7 separate regions of the Homo sapiens genome follow, and regions 1, 2, 4, 5, 6 and 7 are each linked to region 3. The links are contacts of gene promoters, found by promoter capture Hi-C in blood cells and fetal thymus (Javierre and others, 2016). All regions are on one chromosome and are shown on one strand. The core of a region is centred on a gene start or on the middle of the fragment in contact, and the rest is flanking DNA. Distances in the headings are between cores, read along the strand shown.

What was found. The method cuts DNA at HindIII sites, captures the fragments that hold promoters and counts their contacts. A CHiCAGO score of 5 or more calls a contact.
Region 1: a contact is called between a fragment that was not itself captured here and the fragment with the promoter of FLJ13224 in region 3, in 3 of 17 cell types (naive CD4 T cells, total B cells and non-activated CD4 T cells). The highest score is 7.6, in naive CD4 T cells.
Region 2: a fragment that was not itself captured here is called in contact with the fragment with the promoter of FLJ13224 in region 3 in 4 of 17 cell types (naive CD4 T cells, total CD8 T cells, total CD4 T cells and 1 more); the score reaches 6.6 in naive CD4 T cells.
Region 4: a contact is called between a fragment that was not itself captured here and the fragment with the promoter of FLJ13224 in region 3, in 3 of 17 cell types (activated CD4 T cells, naive CD4 T cells and fetal thymus). The highest score is 11.1, in activated CD4 T cells.
Region 5: a fragment that was not itself captured here is called in contact with the fragment with the promoter of FLJ13224 in region 3 in 8 of 17 cell types (naive CD8 T cells, activated CD4 T cells, fetal thymus and 5 more); the score reaches 10.6 in naive CD8 T cells.
Region 6: a fragment that was not itself captured here is called in contact with the fragment with the promoter of FLJ13224 in region 3 in 1 of 17 cell types (total CD4 T cells); the score reaches 5.5 in total CD4 T cells.
Region 7: a contact is called between a fragment that was not itself captured here and the fragment with the promoter of FLJ13224 in region 3, in 8 of 17 cell types (activated CD4 T cells, total CD8 T cells, naive CD4 T cells and 5 more). The highest score is 7.3, in activated CD4 T cells.

Annotation. Positions count from the first base shown.
Region 1 is chr12:32,762,129-32,764,828 of GRCh38, reverse strand. No RefSeq gene overlaps it. Among named protein-coding and RNA genes, the nearest start is that of YARS2, 7.6 kb to the right of the region's middle. The HindIII fragment of the contact is 2,225 bases long and covers 233-2,457 here.
Region 2 is chr12:32,735,742-32,738,441 of GRCh38, reverse strand. DNM1L (dynamin 1 like) reads right to left here. Exons shown (of 20, transcript NM_012062.5): 14 at 1,281-1,337; 15 at 500-577; 16 at 146-178. Among named protein-coding and RNA genes, the nearest start is that of YARS2, 19 kb to the left of the region's middle. The HindIII fragment of the contact is 481 bases long and covers 1,035-1,515 here.
Region 3 is chr12:31,322,920-31,325,619 of GRCh38, reverse strand. FLJ13224 (a long non-coding RNA gene) reads right to left here and starts at 1,304. Exons shown (of 1, transcript NR_026806.1): 1 at 1-1,304. The region is part of intron 1 of SINHCAF (SIN3-HDAC complex associated factor); the gene reads left to right. RefSeq lists an enhancer at 1-381. The HindIII fragment of the contact is 3,270 bases long and covers 1-2,186 here.
Region 4 is chr12:29,373,741-29,376,440 of GRCh38, reverse strand. All of the region lies in intron 1 of ERGIC2 (ERGIC and golgi 2), which reads left to right. Among named protein-coding and RNA genes, the nearest start is that of ERGIC2, 6.1 kb to the left of the region's middle. The HindIII fragment of the contact is 2,633 bases long and covers 1-2,582 here.
Region 5 is chr12:32,674,429-32,677,128 of GRCh38, reverse strand. No RefSeq gene overlaps it. Among named protein-coding and RNA genes, the nearest start is that of DNM1L, 3.5 kb to the left of the region's middle. RefSeq lists an enhancer at 1,736-2,700. The HindIII fragment of the contact is 2,972 bases long and covers 1-2,700 here.
Region 6 is chr12:29,398,060-29,400,759 of GRCh38, reverse strand. All of the region lies in intron 1 of OVCH1-AS1 (OVCH1 antisense RNA 1), which reads right to left. Among named protein-coding and RNA genes, the nearest start is that of OVCH1-AS1, 10 kb to the right of the region's middle. The HindIII fragment of the contact is 2,493 bases long and covers 70-2,562 here.
Region 7 is chr12:32,692,144-32,694,843 of GRCh38, reverse strand. All of the region lies in intron 1 of DNM1L (dynamin 1 like), which reads right to left. Among named protein-coding and RNA genes, the nearest start is that of DNM1L, 14 kb to the right of the region's middle. The HindIII fragment of the contact is 2,885 bases long and covers 1-2,700 here.

The DNA of each region.
Region 1 (2,700 bases), core at 96-2,595, 1.4 Mb before region 3:
AGTGAGCCGTGATCATGCCACAGCCCTCCAGGCTGGACATTGCAAGACCCTGTTTCAAAAATACCCATTTTTAAAATTAACTTGTTTTCCAGAGTAGAAATGTTAGATAGAATGTCTGTAAAATTTATTCCCAAAACAGGACATTTTCGAGAATAAAAGGGGTCATATAAATAATTAGGCTGAGACAAGAGGCATATAAACCAGGGCTACATTCACCTATTTACTGGAAGCTTTCTCAAATATATAGTGTGACATCATGTTACAAGTCCATTGGAAAGGTGTCTCAGTTGGTGCTATGTGCTAGATATTTGGTCACCATCTGACACCATTGTGTCCCTGATTGCCACTCCCCTGAACCTCCTTAAACTGTGCTTGGAGAAGAGTTACGTGAGACATACAATGGGAAGGGGCATGGGTGTCTAAGATTTCCTTTGGTTTTAGAAAAAAATAGCTATGAGAATACAGAGGAGTTGTTTTCATTTGCTATCTCTGTTAGTGACACCCTTCCAGGTCGGTCTCCCACCCACGGGCAGCTTTGAATGAGATCAATGGCAATTGAAACTGTTTGGATCTGAGCAAAGCTGCTTGGATTTTCACTGGATCTTTCTGCAAATATGATATATGTTTCATTGGTCAACTATCACTTTCTAAATCTTCAATCTTAATTTTTCAAAACTTGTCATAATACAGTTTCCCTCTAATAACAGCCATGTAAGCATGACTTAAACTGGCTTCTACTGCTTAAGCAAACCTCAGTAGAGGAGAAAATAGATGTATTTATTTATTTATTTTGTAATAGAGTCTTGTTCCGTCACCAGGCTGGAGTGCAGTGGCATGATGTCGGCTCACTGCAACCTCCGCCTCCTGGGTTCAAGCAATTCTCCTGCCTCAGCCTCCCAAGTAGCTGGGACTACAGGTGTGTGCCACCATGCCCAGCTAATTTTTTGTATTTTTTGGTAGAGATGGGGTTTCACCATGTTGGTCAGGCGGTCTCGAACTCCCAACCTCAAGTGATCTGCCTGCCTCAGCCTCCCAAAGTGCTGGGATTACAGGCGTGAGCCACTGCGCCCAGGCTTTTTTTTGTTTGTTTGTTTTTTTCTTTGAGAGGGAGTCTCACTTTGTCACCCAGGCTGGAGTGCAGAGGCATGATCTCTGCTCACTGCAACGTCCACCTCCCAGGTTCAAGGGATTCTCCTGCCTCAGCCTCTCAAGTAGCTGAGATTATGGGCGCCCATCACCATGCCCGGCTAATTATTTTTTGTATTTTAGTAGAGATAGGGTTTCACCATGTTGGCCAGGCTGGTCTCAAACTCCTGACCTCAAGTGATCCGCCATCTTGGCCTCCCAAAGTGCTGGGATTGCAGGCATGGGCCACTGTGCCTGGCCGATGAATACATTTTTAACCTCCTCCCTGGTGTGGTGGCTTAAATAATGAAGTTAAAGCTGAGAAACAATAAATGGGACTTTTGACTACTGTGATAGCAAACAGGCATTTCAGAATTGTAGAGGTGAATGAGATTTTAGAATTCATCTAATCCAGCCCATTTACTTTTTTTTTTCTTTTCTTTTCTTTTTTTTCTGAAATGGAGTCTTGCTCTGTCGCTCAGGCTGGAGTGCAGTGGCGAGATCTCAGCTTGCTGCAATCTCTGCCTCCCAGGTTCAAGTGATTCTCCTGCCTCAGCCTCCCAAGTAGCTGGGACTACAGGTGCCGGCCACCATGCCTGGCTAATTTTTTGTATTGTTAGTAGAGACAGGGTTTCACCGTGTTAGCCAGGATGGTCTCGATCTCCTGACCACGTCGTGATTTGCCTGCCTCGGCCTCCCAAAATGCTGGGATTACAGGCATGAGCCACCGCGCCAAGCCCAGCCCATTTACTTCTAAAATGAGGACACCAAGGCTAGTGTGTTAAATGACTTATCTAAGGAGGAACAGGTAGTCAAGGTTAAGCTGAGATAGCTACTCATGTCTGTGACTCCTAGTCCCATGGTCTTTGGACCACGACTCAGAAGCACATTTTGTTATGGTTGTGAGGATGAAGGAAGTAATATTTGACTTTTCTGCAAACATTATGTAAATACAAGGTATTTGTTCCCCTTATGATGTTACAGAACATTAATGAGTGAGATGTTTCCAGACTTATTTCTCATTTTGGTAACTAACCAGTCAGTGCTTATAACAGAAAAACATAAAGTCCGTATTGAAGACACTGAGAAAAAAAGACAAAAATAGTTTTAATCAAAATAGAATTGCTCTACAAAACATAGAATGATTGCTTATTGTTTTGTTTCTTCTCCAATGGAGATATAAATTCACTTGGCCTTGATGGAGGGACAATGATGAGTTGATTGATTCACTTCTACTCTGTCAGAGAGACCAGAAAATTACTAAGGTAACTTGATAAATAGGAAAATTCCAAAATGATCTTCACTGAAGACATTATCCATTTGATCTAAGCTTTTCAGATGCAATCACAATAGTGTCTCCAAGATCCTCTTTCTAAGAGGGAAGCCTGCTTTTCTCATCACATTAGCAAACAGCCAGGCGGATTCGTTGCTTGCCAGTCATGGCTGAATTACAGTCCCGACAACATGGCCTGGGAAAGAACATGCTGGTAGGGGACTGCGGCGGCTATCACCAAGCTCAGAGCAGAAGGGGTGGATGTTGGGGAAAGGGTTCTGCGAGGAGAAAAATTCACTGCA
Region 2 (2,700 bases), core at 26-2,525, 1.4 Mb before region 3:
CAGGTTAGATAAAAGGAACATTAAGAACATAACACAGACAAGAGATAGATACCACTACACAAACAGGTTCTTTAATGGTGGTATAGACAGTGTTTCAGTGAGAACCAAAGGTACCAACATTTCCATTCTGAAGCAAGAGACTCACATTTTTAGTTTCTCTTCTGCTGTCCTGAATTAACTGTTAAAAGATATGTTAAAACATGCAATTTAACAAGCAAAATTTAAATACCAATGGGTTGAAATTCAAAAAGTGCAGGATAATTTCCTCTTTAAATTACTTTTTCTGTGTGCATCTTCTATATTGCAAGCAAAAGCATGTCAACAATATAAACTATGCATTGCATTGTTATATAATTTTAAAATATATATTAGACTAAAGTGATCTGACCTTAGCACAGTATCCCATATTAATATTCTTCTATTCAGTGTATTGTTTCCAGAAGATTATGTTGTACCAGAGAACAAGGCATGCAGGCTTAGATTAAGAATCAGAACAGACCTTGCCATCAGCCTCAGCAGAAGCAGCGGGGGAGGGCTCCTGGGAGGCAGGTGCCAAAGCACTTGGAACTTTAGAAGACTAAAGGCAAAAAATCCAGGGGGGAAAAAAAATCAAGGATGCAAAAATGCATTCAGGAACATTCTATAAATGAATTTTTCCCTTCTGTAATGAAATCGTAAAATAACATGAAAGATGAAAATAATCATGGGAGATTGTTTATTCTGCCTTATTTCCTTCACCATTGTCACCTTTGTTAAAAGTTTCCTTCAGATGAATACATAAGAAAAATCCAAATCCAAAAGCTTCATTTTTATTTTTGGTATTTAATAAGATTCTTTTCTGGCAAAGAATTCAAGGTAAAAGATTTTTATACACACTTTAGTATTACAACTATTTTAATTATTACTAGTAATTAAAACCTCTGTTCTGTGCATACTGTTTTTTCCAAGAAACCCTCTTATTATAATAAAATCTTGAGTCATTTCAGCTATGTGCAAAGTTGATAAAGTCACTGACTGAATTTTTTTAAAAAGCTTGATGCTTAAATGCTTAAATAAATGCTTAAATCTACTTTTAAGCATTTATGTCAGTGAATTCAAAATACTATTATCTTTAAATCACTCAAAACCCATTTTAAACTTGTATGCCTTTACTCAGTTAGTTCCAATGGAGTGTTAAAGGGAGGAAAAGAAGAAAAAATTACTCCTAGGACTGAGTAATATTCTGAGCTCATCAATCTATCTTTAGGTATTGGGAATATGCATTAAAAACATTTTTTTACCTTGTCTCGTGATACAGCTGAAGGTAATTCTCTGGCTAGCCTGTTTCTCCTTTGTTCCTAAGAAACACAAGCAAAACAAAAGTGATTATCCAAGTATTGAGATATATGCCTACTAAAAAATGTTCATGTTAATTGAAAAGTGTGGAGTAACTTACAGATACATCCTCTCACTGTTGGGACTCATGCCATAATTATCATATTTTAAAATAAATAAGAAATCATTTAACCCAAAGCTTCTTAATCTTTTTTTTTTCTGCCCACACACCTGAAGGATACAATACACTGTCAGTAACAGTGGCTCCCTGTACTGGGGATTCTCAAATGAGGGGCAACAGACTGCCATCTTCTCCCCCTTTCCCACTAAGAAACAGTGATGTAAACTGTCCTCACATAAATGTGGAACGTGGTAAGCCTTCAACATAACCATGTGGAATTTGAAGTCCAGAGATCACAGAAAACTCCGCAAAGCCTTTAAAAGTCACTCTAACCTGAACACCTTTGTGTTAAACTCAAACAACTCCCCTCATAAAACCGTATCTTGAAGAAGTATCTGTGGTTGAGGTTATCCTATAAAAATGTTCCATTTCTTCCTCCAGGAAATAGTGTTGACAACTGCTAGTCCTTTCTGTAACCTGGCTAATTTAACACACTGATCAATTGCCTACTGTTCTAATTTGCTAATATTATCAAAGTAACTTGTACAAAGCTAAAGAAACTGACAAATTCAAATTAGAATGTCCCGAGCATCTGCTATATCCAAGCACCAAGATAGGTAAAAGATTATGAAAATATTGGCCGGGCACAGTGCCTCATGCTTGTAATCCCAGCACTTTGGGAGGCCAAGGTGGGCAGATCACTTGAGGGCAGTTCAAGACCAGCCTGGCCAAAATGGTGAAACCCTGTCTCTACTAAAAATATAAAAATTAGCCAGGCATGGTGCCGCACACCTGTAATCCCAGCTACTCAGGAGGCTGCGGCAGGAGAACTGCTTGAACCCAGGAGGCAGAGGTTGCAGTGAGCAGAGCTCATGCCACTGCACTCCAGCCTGGGCGACAGAGTGAGACTCTGTCTTAAAAAAAAAAAAAAAAAAAAAAGATTATGAAGATATAGAAATCTGTAGATGTTAATTAATGATGGATCTCTCACAGGCAGCATCAGATAAAGTAGAAACTATTTAGGTTAAAGTCACAATTGCTCCTAAGTAGGAAGTATTTCATGAACACAGTCCAACTTGCAAAAAAATATAAGTTAAAGCCTCACAATGATTTTGTTTTTGTTTTTTGTTGAAATGGAGTCTCGCTCTGTCGCCCAGGCTGGAGTGCAGTGGTGTGATCTTGGCTCACTGCAACCTCCGCCTCCTGGATTCAATGGATTCTCCCTGCTGCAGCCTCCCTACTAGCTGGGATTACAGGCATCCACC
Region 3 (2,700 bases), core at 55-2,554:
TGGCCACCGCGCAGCGGCCGGGGTCGGTGCGTCCGCGTGGGCGCGAGGCGCGGGCAGGGTCGGGCGCCGTTGTGAAACCTCGTGGTTTAGTTGACTGCAGCCCTCGGACTAGGGTGGACAATAAACGCCATTCGCTCGGAAACTAAGTTGCCATCCGCTTCCGAGCTGGCGGCCGAGGGTCTTTAAATCGGCCTTTGGGGGTCAGTGCTGGGCTCTGCCGGAGCGCACGCGGCGTGGCGTTGTTTGCTCAACTCCGGAGGGATGCGGATGCGACAATGAGAGCAACACGCGGTCGCTTAAAAACAGCCCGTCTTCCACTCGCCTGCCCTCTTCGGACCGCGCCCAAGAGCCTCTGGTGTCCGGGGTGCTTTCGGAGCCCGAAGTTTTGCTCCCGGTGCGTTCACCTGTAGCGTAGGTGTGGGCGACACCGCGAGGGCTTCCCGTTTATGGGCGGCCGTCCGCGCTGTAAGATGGCCAGGGAAGCCAACTTGGCTGGAGATGGAGGCGGCGGCGTTGTGTACGCCGCGGGAGTCAGTGAACTCCGCAGGGCACTGCTTTTTGTGCTCTACGTGACAGACCACGTGCTTCGGGCTGCGACCCTGGTCCTTGTCCGAATGTCCAGCCCCGCGTGAGCCGTGGGATGCGGCCGCCGTCGGGCAGGTCCGGCCGGCAGGACAATGTGGTTTGCTGATGATGGCGTCTTGCCAGTTTAAAAAGCAGAGTGAAAGTCGCCAACTCTCCGCCCGTGCGGGGCGGATACTCCGGGCGTTTCTCATCAAGGACACTGCAAAACTTTGATTAAATGGGCCTGCTCCCGAGGGGAGGGTCGGGGGGCCAGGCTCCGGACTCTTCGGGGCGCGGGGTCCGGACCCCTACCCAGGGTGATCGTCCAGTGTCCGGCCCCTGCGAAACGCTCCGACATCCCTGATGCTGCACGTAGGCAGCGCCCGGCTGGACAGAAAACAAAGGGCTGCATGTGCCCGTGCGGGCCCCCGGCGCTCGGGGCCGCCGCCTGGGCGTAGGGCCGTGCAGGTCGGAGGCCCTCGAAGTTCGGGCGAGTTTCGGGAGGGGCTTTTGTCCCTCAGCCCCCTCGTGGGGAAACTTTGGCGGCGCTACTTGTGCGAGGTGCCATGCTGGTGCGTAGGGAGGCGGCGTGCTTCCCCGCTCCGGGCGTGCGGGCGGGCGACCGAGGGAGGCGGCAGTGCCCGGCGCTTCAGCCCTGGCGTCGGGGGTTGCGACGGCCGAGGGTTCCGGGGAGCTTGGCCCGGACTGCTCGGCCGGTTTCTCGTGGCCCGGGAGCCTGTGTCTGGGAGGTCTGTGGGTTCGCCTTTGAAGTCGAACTGTTGCCATGTTTGAATTACGTCAGGGCAAAGCCATGAGGAGGAACAAGCCCCGGCAGCGCGGCGTGCGGGAGGCGCGGCCTGCGGGAGGCGCCGGGCCGGGCTGGCGCGGGGCCCGTTGTTCCGGCGCAGGTGAGGGAGGTGGCGGCGAGCGACGCGGTTCACCTCCCGCTGCCCTCGCCCTCGCCCCGGCGAGCGGCCCCCGCAGGAACTTTCCTCCCGACGCGAGATGTCTTATTTACCAACAAATCCACCAGGGAGCATTCTTACTTGCTGGCTCGGCGTCTCTCTCGGCAGTCACCGGAGTGCCCGAGGGGGAAGCACGATTTACGGAAGGTGGGGACCCGAGGGCCCTGGGAGGAGCGGGGAGGCATTTTACTGCTTTCAGAGAAACGGGTGAGGGCGGCGAGCACCTCCTCCCCAGCCGAGCTGTGGCCCGCAAGTCCAGGGGACCCAGCCCCGACGACGCCCGATAAACCACCGTGGGGAAGTTCCGGGGCTCCCTGTTGCCCTACTAAGGGAAGTGAGGACTGTGGGCGAATTGTGCGTGCGGCCAGTTTCTTTGTGTGTTTCTAGGGGGTGGGGGGAGCGGGGAAGGGCAAGGTTTGTTTTGGTGTAGGGGGAGTTGGTTTCTTGAGGTGGTAGGGCGGTGCAGTTTGTTCTGGTAACTATGACCCTAGTCAGTTTCTTTGTTTTTATTTTCTTCCTGTAACCTTCCATTACTTCAGGCACTCGGAAGATTAGGATTTACTCTTGAGTTAAACAGGGACCCTATCCGAGACAGTTTTACCCCAGCAATTCTTTCTCCCCCTTCTTAAGTTGTCCTAAGGAGGGTTAAGAAAAGCTTTTCTTTTTCTTTTAATAATTTAAAAATGAATTTGACCTTGTTATTCAGAGTACGCTGAAAGCACCTGTTTTTGAACTGGAATTTGCCAGACTTGAAAAGCCTTTTAAAATTTTATGTCGCAAAATTGAACACATTTAGTTGCCCAATCTAAAAGTCTGGGAGTTTGTTTCTGGTGGAGTTTCGGAGAAAACCCTCATGGCATTTAAAGTATTTATATAATGATTTTGGGAAGGGGGATCTTTTTTAGGCGAAAGGTATGCGTGACTCAGTGTTTGGTGGTTATTCAGTGCCTTAGGATGACCTTGAAGAAGCAAATGTTTAGGGAGTTGGGCCTTTTGGAAACATTGTAAGGAGGCTGGGGAGCTGGCTGGGGAGGAAGCTGCTCAGGAAGATGACACAGGGTAACGGCTAGCTTCTTCCCAGATCCCGTGAACTGTGGTTGACCTTCTGGTTACCTCTCCTAGATTTTTCTTTTCAAGCTAACCTTTTCTTTTTTTGTATGTGGCCCCAGGC
Region 4 (2,700 bases), core at 17-2,516, 1.9 Mb after region 3:
CAGAGCATGAATTCCAAAGGATGATAATGGAGTGGGGGAGAAGCATATTGAATGATCTGGGTGCTGAAGTCATTAAGCAAATTATGAATATATTCAGATGTTAGTGGAATATAGCAACAAGTACGGAAGTGAGAATCAGTGTGTACTGTGGTTTGGAGCATAGTTTCAAGTTCTACCACCTGCTATGTAGCCTGGGAAAATTATTTGACAGTTCTGTGCCTCATTTCCTCATCAAAAAGTAGGATTAAAAATAGTACCTGCTGCTTCATAGAGTCATTTACAAGATTAAATGAATTAATGTTTAAAGAGCTTCAAATAATACATAGCACAAAACATGAGAGATGGTTGAGAAATATGGTAAAACATGATACTTCTGTAACCTGTGAGTCTCAGAAATGACTAAGGATTGGAATGGAACTGCTGCCAATAGAAAGTCAGGTTTTATAAAGAGAGCAGACAGCAATTTCTTTTAGAAAAGCTAGAAGTTATTGGATACCTTGTTTATGCCAGACAGTGACTTTTACAGTAGGTTGGCAAGTATGCAAAATGGAATGAATTTCTTGGAGGTAGGTTAGTGCTGAGCTTTCAGGAATGGGACTGGTGGAGTAGCTGAGGGGCGAGGTGCTCCATTCTAGAGTGATATCCCCTGGAAAACAGGGATGGAGGAAGCTAGAGATGGGTAGGGAGCCACATGATATATTCCAGCTAGACTTTCAAGGGAGGAGTGTTGAATAGGTTGTATGTATTATTAGGAGATTTGTAAAACTAACTGCTTGCCGTATCTTTATGCTTATATATAAATTAAAAGAGCATTTAGAAAGCTCATTATACAAATATAACATTTATATAAACTTTTAGAAATGTAATTCACTGTTTTATTCATTTGTTTAACAGTGCTATACTGACTATGTGATGGCCACTGTTCTAGGTCCTGGGACAGTAGACAACAGGAAAATCCTTCTTGTGGATCTTATTTTTATATATTTACTTACCTAAGTATGACATACTGCTGTGATTTGAAAGATGTGCTACTGTGGTGTTTCTGGGAAAATTTCCTTCCTTCCTTTTCTCAATAAATATTGAATACCTGTTCGCTAGGCATTGGAGATACAAAGATCAAGTTAGACATGGTTCCTGCTCTAACAATCCGGTGGAGGAAACAGAAAAAGAGGCAATTAGAAATAGTGTGATAAAGGTACAACGTTCTAGAAGCAGATAGACTTTGAAGGCCATGGAAAGTTTTTTTGTTCCCCCTGCTTGCTCAAGGTAGAGATGAGTAGACTGGACCTTGAAGAGTAAGTAGGAGTTAGTCAAATGTAGAGATGCGGTAGGGGGAAGAAAAAATATTTCTGGCAAAGAGAATAGGATATTTAAGGAATTGAAAGTGATTTAATATGGTTGGAACGTAGACTGTGAGTGATTGGGTTTGAAGAGAGGTTAGCAGGACCTGGTTTTTGAAGGGCTTTGTAAAACATGTTAGGATAGAATCCAAGCTCTTAAGTGTAGTGGGAAGGGAAGTTTTACAAAGATTTGAAGAGAAATATCAGATTTATGTATTAAAAAGATAATTTATTATTACAGTATAGAGAGAGAATTGGAAGGTTGAAGATTAGAGGTTGTTGAAGCAATGTAGTGATAGATTGTGGCAGTTGGGACTAGGAACATACTTGGACATAAGGAATTTCTCAGTAGGCCTGAAGAAGAGAAGACAGGCAGATTTAAGAGAAATTTAGAAATAGCTTAAGTCTAAAGATATAACCCATGTTTCTGGCTTGTGTAGTTGGGCTTATGGTGTTATCATTAAGATAGATACAGGAGGAACAATTTTTACAGGGTGAAGTATTCATTTTTGGACTTGTTGAGTCTGAATTGTGTTTGGAATGTCCAAATGAAAAGGTAACAGAAGGCAAGGGGTTATACATATCTGCAGAGAGATCTGGGCAGAGAATCAAGATTTGGGATAAATCAACATGCAGATTGAAATGGAAGGAGTGGGCGATCATTTGGGGAAGGTGTGGAGGTTAAGGGGGAGACCTAGTGCAGAATCTTGAGAGAAAGATGAATTTGCACAGTAAGCCAAAGAGGGTTTTCCAGGTAGAATGAAAATTGGGGATGTGATATCACTTAAGTCAAGGTAAGAGAATGTTTCGAGAAGAAAAAGAAGTGATAAGCAGTGTGTTTTCTCAGAGGTGCAGTTAGATAAGGACTGAGGAGTGTCTGTCAGTACTAAGGAAGTTAATTACCTTGCTCAGAGCAAATTTAGTTAAGAGGTGAGAGTTGGGTGAGGAAGTAGTCACAGTAGATGAATGGGGACAACTCATTCTTTTAAGTTGGCTGTAGGTGTGCTGCGAGAGATGTATTGTTGGAGTTGGACTTGAGTTTAAGGGAGAGTTCTGTTTTAAAGAGAAGAGACATACAGATATTTAATATTTTACTCAAATCAGAAAGAGTAGAAATTGAAAGATTGAAAAAGGGTCAGTTTTTGTGCAGTTACTACTAAAAAGGTACAGAAAATAAATTTGATTATCAGAGCTAAACAAGTTTAGCGGGCATGGCATATACATAACAAACATTCAGAAGCTTAATTTATCGATGGGAATACCAGTTTTATAACTGACGTGGGGGTCAGAAAACTGTCATCTGTTTTGTCTATGACATCTATTTTTTTCTTTCGAATACTAAGTGCATGGGAAAAAAATC
Region 5 (2,700 bases), core at 98-2,597, 1.4 Mb before region 3:
AGAGGATAGAGATTCGAGAAAGACTTCCTAGAAGTTACTAAATTTAATCTCCATGAGGACAAGAACCACCAGCAGTAGTGGAAGTTGTGCACTACGCAACTCCAGTGGGTGCCATTCACCTGCTTAGCTGTACACAATGGCTGCGGGGAACATGCTTGATTTGTTCAGCAGGACAAATGGCAGGTGCTTAATAAATATCTGTGAACAAATGGATGAAGTAAGCCAAGACCTAAAGATCCATTAGTGGTGTTTTGGCATCTTGACAGGTTTTGTGAACATCTCCTCTTTGATTATTTTCAAAAAAAAAATTTTTCAGAGATAAAATAAGACAAAAATTTCAGAACTCCAAAAAACAGTTTTATTCCAAGTCTCTTGACTTTCTACCAAAGATAATATTACATAATAGTCAGATATTACCCACTTTGCTTCTCACCCCTCTGTTGATGGAGCTTTTGTTTTCTTCTAAAGAAAACAGAAGGCCGGGCACGGTGGCTCATGCCTGTAATCCCAGTACTTCAGGAGGCCAAGGTGGGCATATCACCTGATGTCGGGAGTTCAAGACCAGCCTGACCAACATGGAGAAACCCCATCTCTACTAAAAATACAAAAATTAGCTGGGCGTGATGGTGCACGCCTGTAATCCCAGCTACTCGGGAGGCTGAGGCAGGAGAATTGCTTGAACCCGGGAGGCAGAGGTTGCGGTGAGCCGAGATTGCACCATTGCATTCCAGCCTTGGCAACAGGAGCAAAACTCCGTCTCAAAAAAAAAAAAAAAAAAAAAGAGCCAGGCCCGGTGGCTCACGCCTGTAATCCCAGCACTTTGGAAGGCCGAGGTGGGCGGGTCACCTGAGGTCAGGAGTTCAAGACCAGCCTGACAAACATGGTGAAACCCCATCTCTACTAAGAATACAAAAAAAAAATTAGCCTGGTGTGGCGCGTGCCTGTAATCCCAGCTACTCGGGAGGCTGAGGCAGGAGAATCGCTTGAACCCGGGAGGCAGAGGTTGCAGTGAGCCGAGATCGCGCCACTGCACTCCAGCCTGGGCGGCAAGAGCAAAACTCCAACTAAAAAAAAAAAAAAAGAAGAAAAAAAACCAATTTCGGCTTTCATGTTTTAAGTTCAGAACACTCTTGTTTGTGGGAAATCAATTTAACTAATAAGTGGCTAAATGGATTTCCCACAAAAAAGAGTCTTTGTGCATCTAAGAATAATGTGTTCTTCAGTGGCTTCCTGTGGGAATCACATTAAACCATTATCGGATATCAAAAGGCCTTTAAAAAAACCTCTTCTCGGCCAGGTGCGGTGCCTCACACCTGTAATCCCAGCACTTTGGGAGGCCGAAGTGGGTGGATCACGAGGTCAGGAGATGGAGACCATCCTGGCTAACACGGTGAAACCCCGTCTCTACTAAAAATACAAAAAATTAGCCAGGCGTGCTGGCACGCGCCTGTAGTCCTAGCTACTGGGGAGGCTGAGGCAGGAGAATTGTTTGAACCTGGGAGGCAGAGGTTGCAGCAAGCCAAGATCGCGCCACTGCACTACAGCCTGGGCAACAGAGTGAGACTCTATCTCAAAAAAAAAAAACAACAACAACAAAAAACACCTCTTCTCCTGCAACCATCCCTCTCTCACCATAGCTTTATGATTTAGGCAGGATAGCTAATTGTAAGGACAGAAATTTAATTCTGAGCTAACTTGCCTCAAAAATGACTGAATGTCTGGGCGCAGTGGCTCTAGCCTGTAATCCAAGCACTTTGGGAGGCCGAGATGGGTGGATCAGTTGGGGTCAGGAGTTCAAGACCAGCCTGGCCAACATGGTGAAACCTCGTCTCTACTAAAAACACAAAAATTAGCTGGGGGTGGTGGTGAGAGCCTGTAATCCCAGCCACTCGGGAGGCTGAGGCAGGAGAATTGCTTGAACCCGGGAGGCGGAAGTTTCAGTGAGCCAAAATCACGTCACCGCATTCCAGCCTGGGTGACACAGTGACACTCCACCTCAAAAAAAAAAATGACTGGAACTAGGAGCTCAGGCAGAATCAGAGCTCTACATCTTATCACTACATCGTCTATTTCATTCTCTCACGCAGTTTACTCCTGTGGAATGAGGTGAGTGTGCTGTGGGGGAGGGTGTAGGGGATCTCATTCAGCAAGCTGTCTCACAGCAGATGAGGCAGAGAGAACTGGGGAGGAACTGAAACCTAGGAACCTGGTTTCTGCCTTGCTTCTCTAGTATATTAGTTCCCTATTGCTGCCTTAACAAATTACCACAATTTTAGTGGCTTAAAACAACAAAAATGTGGCCAGGCGCAATGGCTCACTTCTGTAATCCCAGCACTTTGGGAGGCCGAGGCGGGCGGATCACGAGTTCAGGAGATTGAGACCATCCTGGCTAACATGGTGAAGCCCTGTCTCTAGTAAAAATACAAAAAATTAACCGGGCGTGGTGGCGGGTACCTGTAGTCCCAGCTACCCGGGAGGCCGAGGCAGGAGAATGGCGTGAACCTGGGAGGCAGAGCTTGCAGTGAGCCAAGATCACGCCACTGCACTCCAGCCTGGGCAACACAGTGAGACTCCATGTCAAAAAAAAAAAAAAAGTATTGTTTTACAGTTCTATAGTTCAGTAGTCTCACACAGGTCTCACTGGACTAAAATCAAGGTGTCACCAGGGCTGCAAACCCTCCTAAAGCCTCTAGCAGGGAA
Region 6 (2,700 bases), core at 67-2,566, 1.9 Mb after region 3:
ATGTATTTTTAAAAATCCTTCTTGACCACCTACTGTGTGCCAGACAGAGACACCTAGAAAGAGAAAGCTTTCATCTGTAGAATCTCATTATAATAGAGAAAAACAATACATGAAGATAACTACTATTCAACATGCTATAGAAGCCAGCAGCCTAGGCAGGAACAACTACTGTTTTCTGCAGGAATAAGTGAATGTAATATTTGAGCTGAGTTTTAAGGTTTAAATAATAGTTGACTTGGTTTAGTTTAGTATTTATGTTTTATACACCATCTCTTATGTAACAAGCTATTTCCCTATCAACAACTCCACATAGTGTGAGTTTCTCCTGTCACATGGATCATTGGAAAATTTTTTTGTTCATTCTTAAGTCATAAATTACATTACTTCATTTCCTCTAACCCTTCACCTTTTCTTTCTGATATGTGTTTCAATGATGTAGTGCCAACATTTCACACTTTCCTTGTCAATTTAACAAACAGTCAACAACTTAAGTCTAGTAAGTATCTTATTCTCGCTGAAGATTAACAATGTTGGCCCATCTCTTGATTGCATCTTTGTCTCAACTTTATTATTCATAATATTAGCACTTGTGTTTTTCTATTTCCCACTGGTATGTATGAGAGTAAATTTTAACCAAATTATTAAATAATGGCAACAAAAACAACTGCTAGGTCCAAAGTTACTAAGAAACTCTGACAGAGGCAGAAGAAAATAGAAGGATTATAATAAAAGAAAGTAAAACTACAGTGATTAAGAAAGGGTGGGGCTGGGCATGGTGGCTCACACCTGTAATCTCAGCGCTTTGGGAGACCGAGGCAGGTGGATCACGAGGTCAGGAGATCGAGACCATCCTGGCTAGGACGGTGAAACCCCGTCTCTACTAAAAATACAAAAATTTAGCCGGGAGTGGTTGTGGGCCCCTGTAGTCCCAGCTACTTGGGAGGCTGAGGTGGGAGAATGGCGCGAACCCGGGAGGTGGAGCTTGCAGTGAGCGGAGATCGTGCCACTGCACTCCAGCCTGGCTGACAGAGCAAGACTCTGTCTCAAAAAAAAAAAAAAAAAAAAGAAAAAAAAGAAAGGGTGGTATTGCTGCAGAGAAAAATAAACAGACCAATAAAACAATACCGAAGGAGTCAGCAATGCCATTTTAATTGTTTAACTTGGCAAACAAAATGCATAGGGTGACAATATCAACAGATAATGAGAATATGGAGTAAGAGGAACTCTTCTCACTGCTGGTGGGAAAGTATAATTAGGTACTCCAGCTTTGGAAAACTCAGACAATATCAGTAAAGTTGAAAATAACAGTGTCTTCTCAGTCAACAAGTTCATCTCTAGGTATATACCCTACAGCATTGTCTTCAGCCATGGATAAAATCAAATGTATGTATCTGGGGCATGAAGAATAATTTAACAAACTCCTTATGTGATTCTAATATGCAGCCAGGTTTGAGACCTGTGTCCCACAGGAAAGTGATGTAACCGTGGACCATTGGATATGTACAGGCATGTTTACAGAAACACCAACAAAAAGTTGGAATTACAAATGTCTATTACAGGAGATGGTATAAACAAAATAGTATAATGCTTGCATGGCAGTAAAATACAACAGTCCACAGGCTCTTTAGTGAATCTTAGAAACAATGTTGAGTTTAAAAACCAACAACGTTGAGTTTAAAAACCAAGTTTAGAAAATTAGGCACCACATGAAGCTCAGAAACAGGTAAAATTAAATCGTTTGTTTAGGTTTAAAAAGGCAAGGCAATGCTATCACACCAGAGCTGTGGGGAGGTAGTGGAATAAGCTGGAAGAGTCACACAGGAGCCATTGCAATGCTATCCACTTCTAGTTACGCTGGATGGTGGTCTCACAGATATTTATTATCTTGTTCCATAATTTACATATATTTGCAAATATAAAATACTACACGATATGAAATACTTAAAGCCCCTTTTAACAACACTAGCTCCTCAGGTTGGAAACTGTTCTCCTCCTGTCTAGGTATTTAGAAGTTCCTCAGTAAGCCCTTACATTCTTTTCAGTTCCCTATGCCTAGAAAGCCCACAGTGTCACTGTGACTTGTGGTTACTGATGTCATTTGTAACAATGAGCCTAGTTGTTAACATTAGCAGTTACACTTTCTACCATCTACTTTCTTGTATGAGAAAACAGTTTTAAATGTGTTTGTATGTCTTCCAGGAGTGAGATATTACTTGACCTTTCCATTTAGCTCATTTATTCATTAAAACTAATCTCATTCAAATATTTTGAATATGCCGTTAATAACCTTGGGACACAGGGATTATGAGTATTGGGTTCTGAAGTCAGAGTCCTTGGGTTCAGATCCCAGTTCCACCATTAAGTAGTGTTATAACTTTGGGAAAATTAGCCTCATTGTACTTCTGTTTCTTCATCTATAAAGTGGAGGTAATACATCTACTCATAGGGATATTCTGAAGATAAAGGAGTTTCTACATTTAAATCACATAAATGATAGTTGGCACCTAGTAAACTTCCAATAAATTGTATCTATTATCTTATGTATTTTCCTAAAATGAAGCTTTTAAAGAGGTTCTTCTTCCCGTTTGAGTCCTTTAAAATGTTTCTGAACAAAAAAAAAAAAAAATAGTTAAGGCTGGACGCGGTGGCTCATGCTTATAATCCCGGGCGAGGTGGCTCACCCTTATAATCCCAGCACTT
Region 7 (2,700 bases), core at 177-2,676, 1.4 Mb before region 3:
GGGTTATTTACAATTCTCCGCTCCATCAGAAGTTCCACTGCTTCCTTCTGCTTCTTCCAGTATGGATAACAATGGTTTGTTCCCAATCTGCTGGTATTTGAGCGTTTGTAGAGAAACATAGTCAACTAATTTTCTTGTACACATTTTCTATGTGTTTTTGGTTTTCCTATCCTATTTGTTCTGTTTTAGGGGAAAGTCATATAGATATTTAGGAAACTATTCTACCACTGCTGTCATCTTCCCAGGATCCCTAATATGGATATTTAATCCACTAGAGGTATCAAGACTAATGTTTAGTCTTATAAAAGTTATTTTATACTTCAGTCATAAAAAGGAATAAGGTACCGATGCACGCTCCAACATGGATGAATCTAAAAACATTATTCTGCTAAGTTAAAGTTAGTCAGTCACAAAAGACCACATATTATTTGACCCTGTTTATATGAAATGTCCAAAATATGGCCGGGCGCGGTGGCTCACGCCTGTAATCCCAGCACTTTGGGAGGCCAAGGCAGGCGGATCACAAGGTCAGGAGTTCGAGACCAACCTGGCCAACATGGTGAAACCCCATCTCAACTAAAAATACAAAAATTACACGGGCAAGGTGGCACGCACCTGTAGTCCCAGCTACTCAGGATAGGCTGAGGCAGCAGAACTGCTTGAACCCAGGAGGCGGAGGTTGTAGTGAGCCAAGACTGTGCCACTGCACTCCAGCCTGGGCAACAGGGCGAGACTCCATCTCAAAAAAAGAGAAATGTCCAAAATAGGCAAATCTATAGCTAGAAAGTAGATTATGTGGCTGTTTAGGGACAGAGTGAAGAAGAATGGGGAGTGACTACTAATGGATACCAGGTTTCTTTCTAGAATGATGGTATATTCTAAAATTAGTTTAAAGGTGATGGAAAGGCCAGGCGAGGTGGCACATGCCTGTAACCCCAGCAATGTGGGAGGCCAAGGTAGGCAGATCACTTGAGGCCAAGGAGTTCAAGACCATCCTGGGCAACATGGTGAAACCTCATCTTTACAAAAAATAAAAAAATTAGCCAGGCAAGGTTGCACATGCCTGTAGTACCAGCTGCTCGGGAGGCTTAGACAGATGGATCACTTGAGCCCAGGGGATTGAGGCTGCAGTGAGCCATGGTCATGCCACTGCACTCCAGCCTGGGCAAGAGAGTGAGACCCTGTCTTAAAAAGAAAAGAAAAAAGAAAAGTTTAAGGTGATGGTTGTGCGACTCTATAAATATGCTAAAAAAAACACTGAATTACACATTGTAAATGGGTATGTTATGGTATAGAGTGTATCTCAGTAAAGCTGTTAAAAAACAAAATAAAGGAGAATGACTTCTTAAACAATATACAAAATGTACAAAACCACAGAAGAAAAGATAATTCAACCACAATAAAATTAAAACTTCTTTTCCTCACAGAAAAAATTCAGGGAAAACATTTGTGATCCATAAGTAACTGGTAACCAAAATGTATAAATAACTCCCACAAATCAAATTCTTAAAAATACCTAACAAAATAATGTGCAGAGATATCAACAAAAACTCACAAAACAAAACCTCAAAGAGCCAAGAAACATGATAAGATGCTCACACTCACTAGTAATCAGGAGGATGCAATAGAAACCACAATGAGGTACCATAAATTTAAAATGTGACTATAGAAAGTACAGATATAAATAAACTTCACTCTGTTGATGGGAATGTAAATTACAGCCATCCTGAGAAGCAATAGCAATATCCAATAAATATACCCTACAGTCTGGCAATTCCACTCCTTGATTCGTTAGAGAAATTCTCAAACATGAGACATTTATATGAATATCCGCAGTACCACTGTTTACAAAAACAGCTATAGCAAACACTGGGGAACACACAAATTTCAACAGGATATATTCCTATAATGGACCATTATATAGCAGTATAAGTGAACAAACTGGGATTATATGTGTGTATATAAATAAATTTCACATGACTGTGTAAAAACATATATACAGATTACAGCTACTTTGTGACTGATAGTGAGTGGAACTTCCACCTGATATATCCCTATTATACTATGAAAATGTACAAATACCTGAAATGTAAAAATGAGCCTAATGTTAAGATGGATAGGAAGGACACTGTGACTAGTTCTGTGTGGAGTTTGGTAGCACTGTGATTCATTTGATGCTTCTAGAAACCACAAAAAACTATACATTGGAGAAATTATGGACTCTGTGTTCTTATGATGACTAGTTAGTTCTGAAGCACCTGGACATTATCTGAAGACTTCATTCTTGGAATAGAAGATGACATTTCATCCCTGACTCCAGTGGAGTTCAAGTGTGAATAAAATGATATGAACTGCTTTTGTCATTTCAGAATTAGACTGAGTCACTTCTTGGAAAATATAGCTCCTAAACCCCAGTTTAGGTGCTGTTAAAATAAGTATCATCTACCTCACGGGTACTCATGGTGACTGACTCTTGGAGACTCTAGAATGCACCAAAACAAACAAACAAACAAACAAATTCCAGACATTCAAACTAAAACTTTTAACATGTTGTCGCTATTCCTGAGATCCCAGCAGGACTTCCTGGAGCCTGTGCTTAACTTGATCTCTCTGCTTAGATTTTAATTAATTTTGCTTAAATGTAAATCTTATTCTATAGAATGGAATGAGCAAAATTTTAAATAATTAAAATATATATCA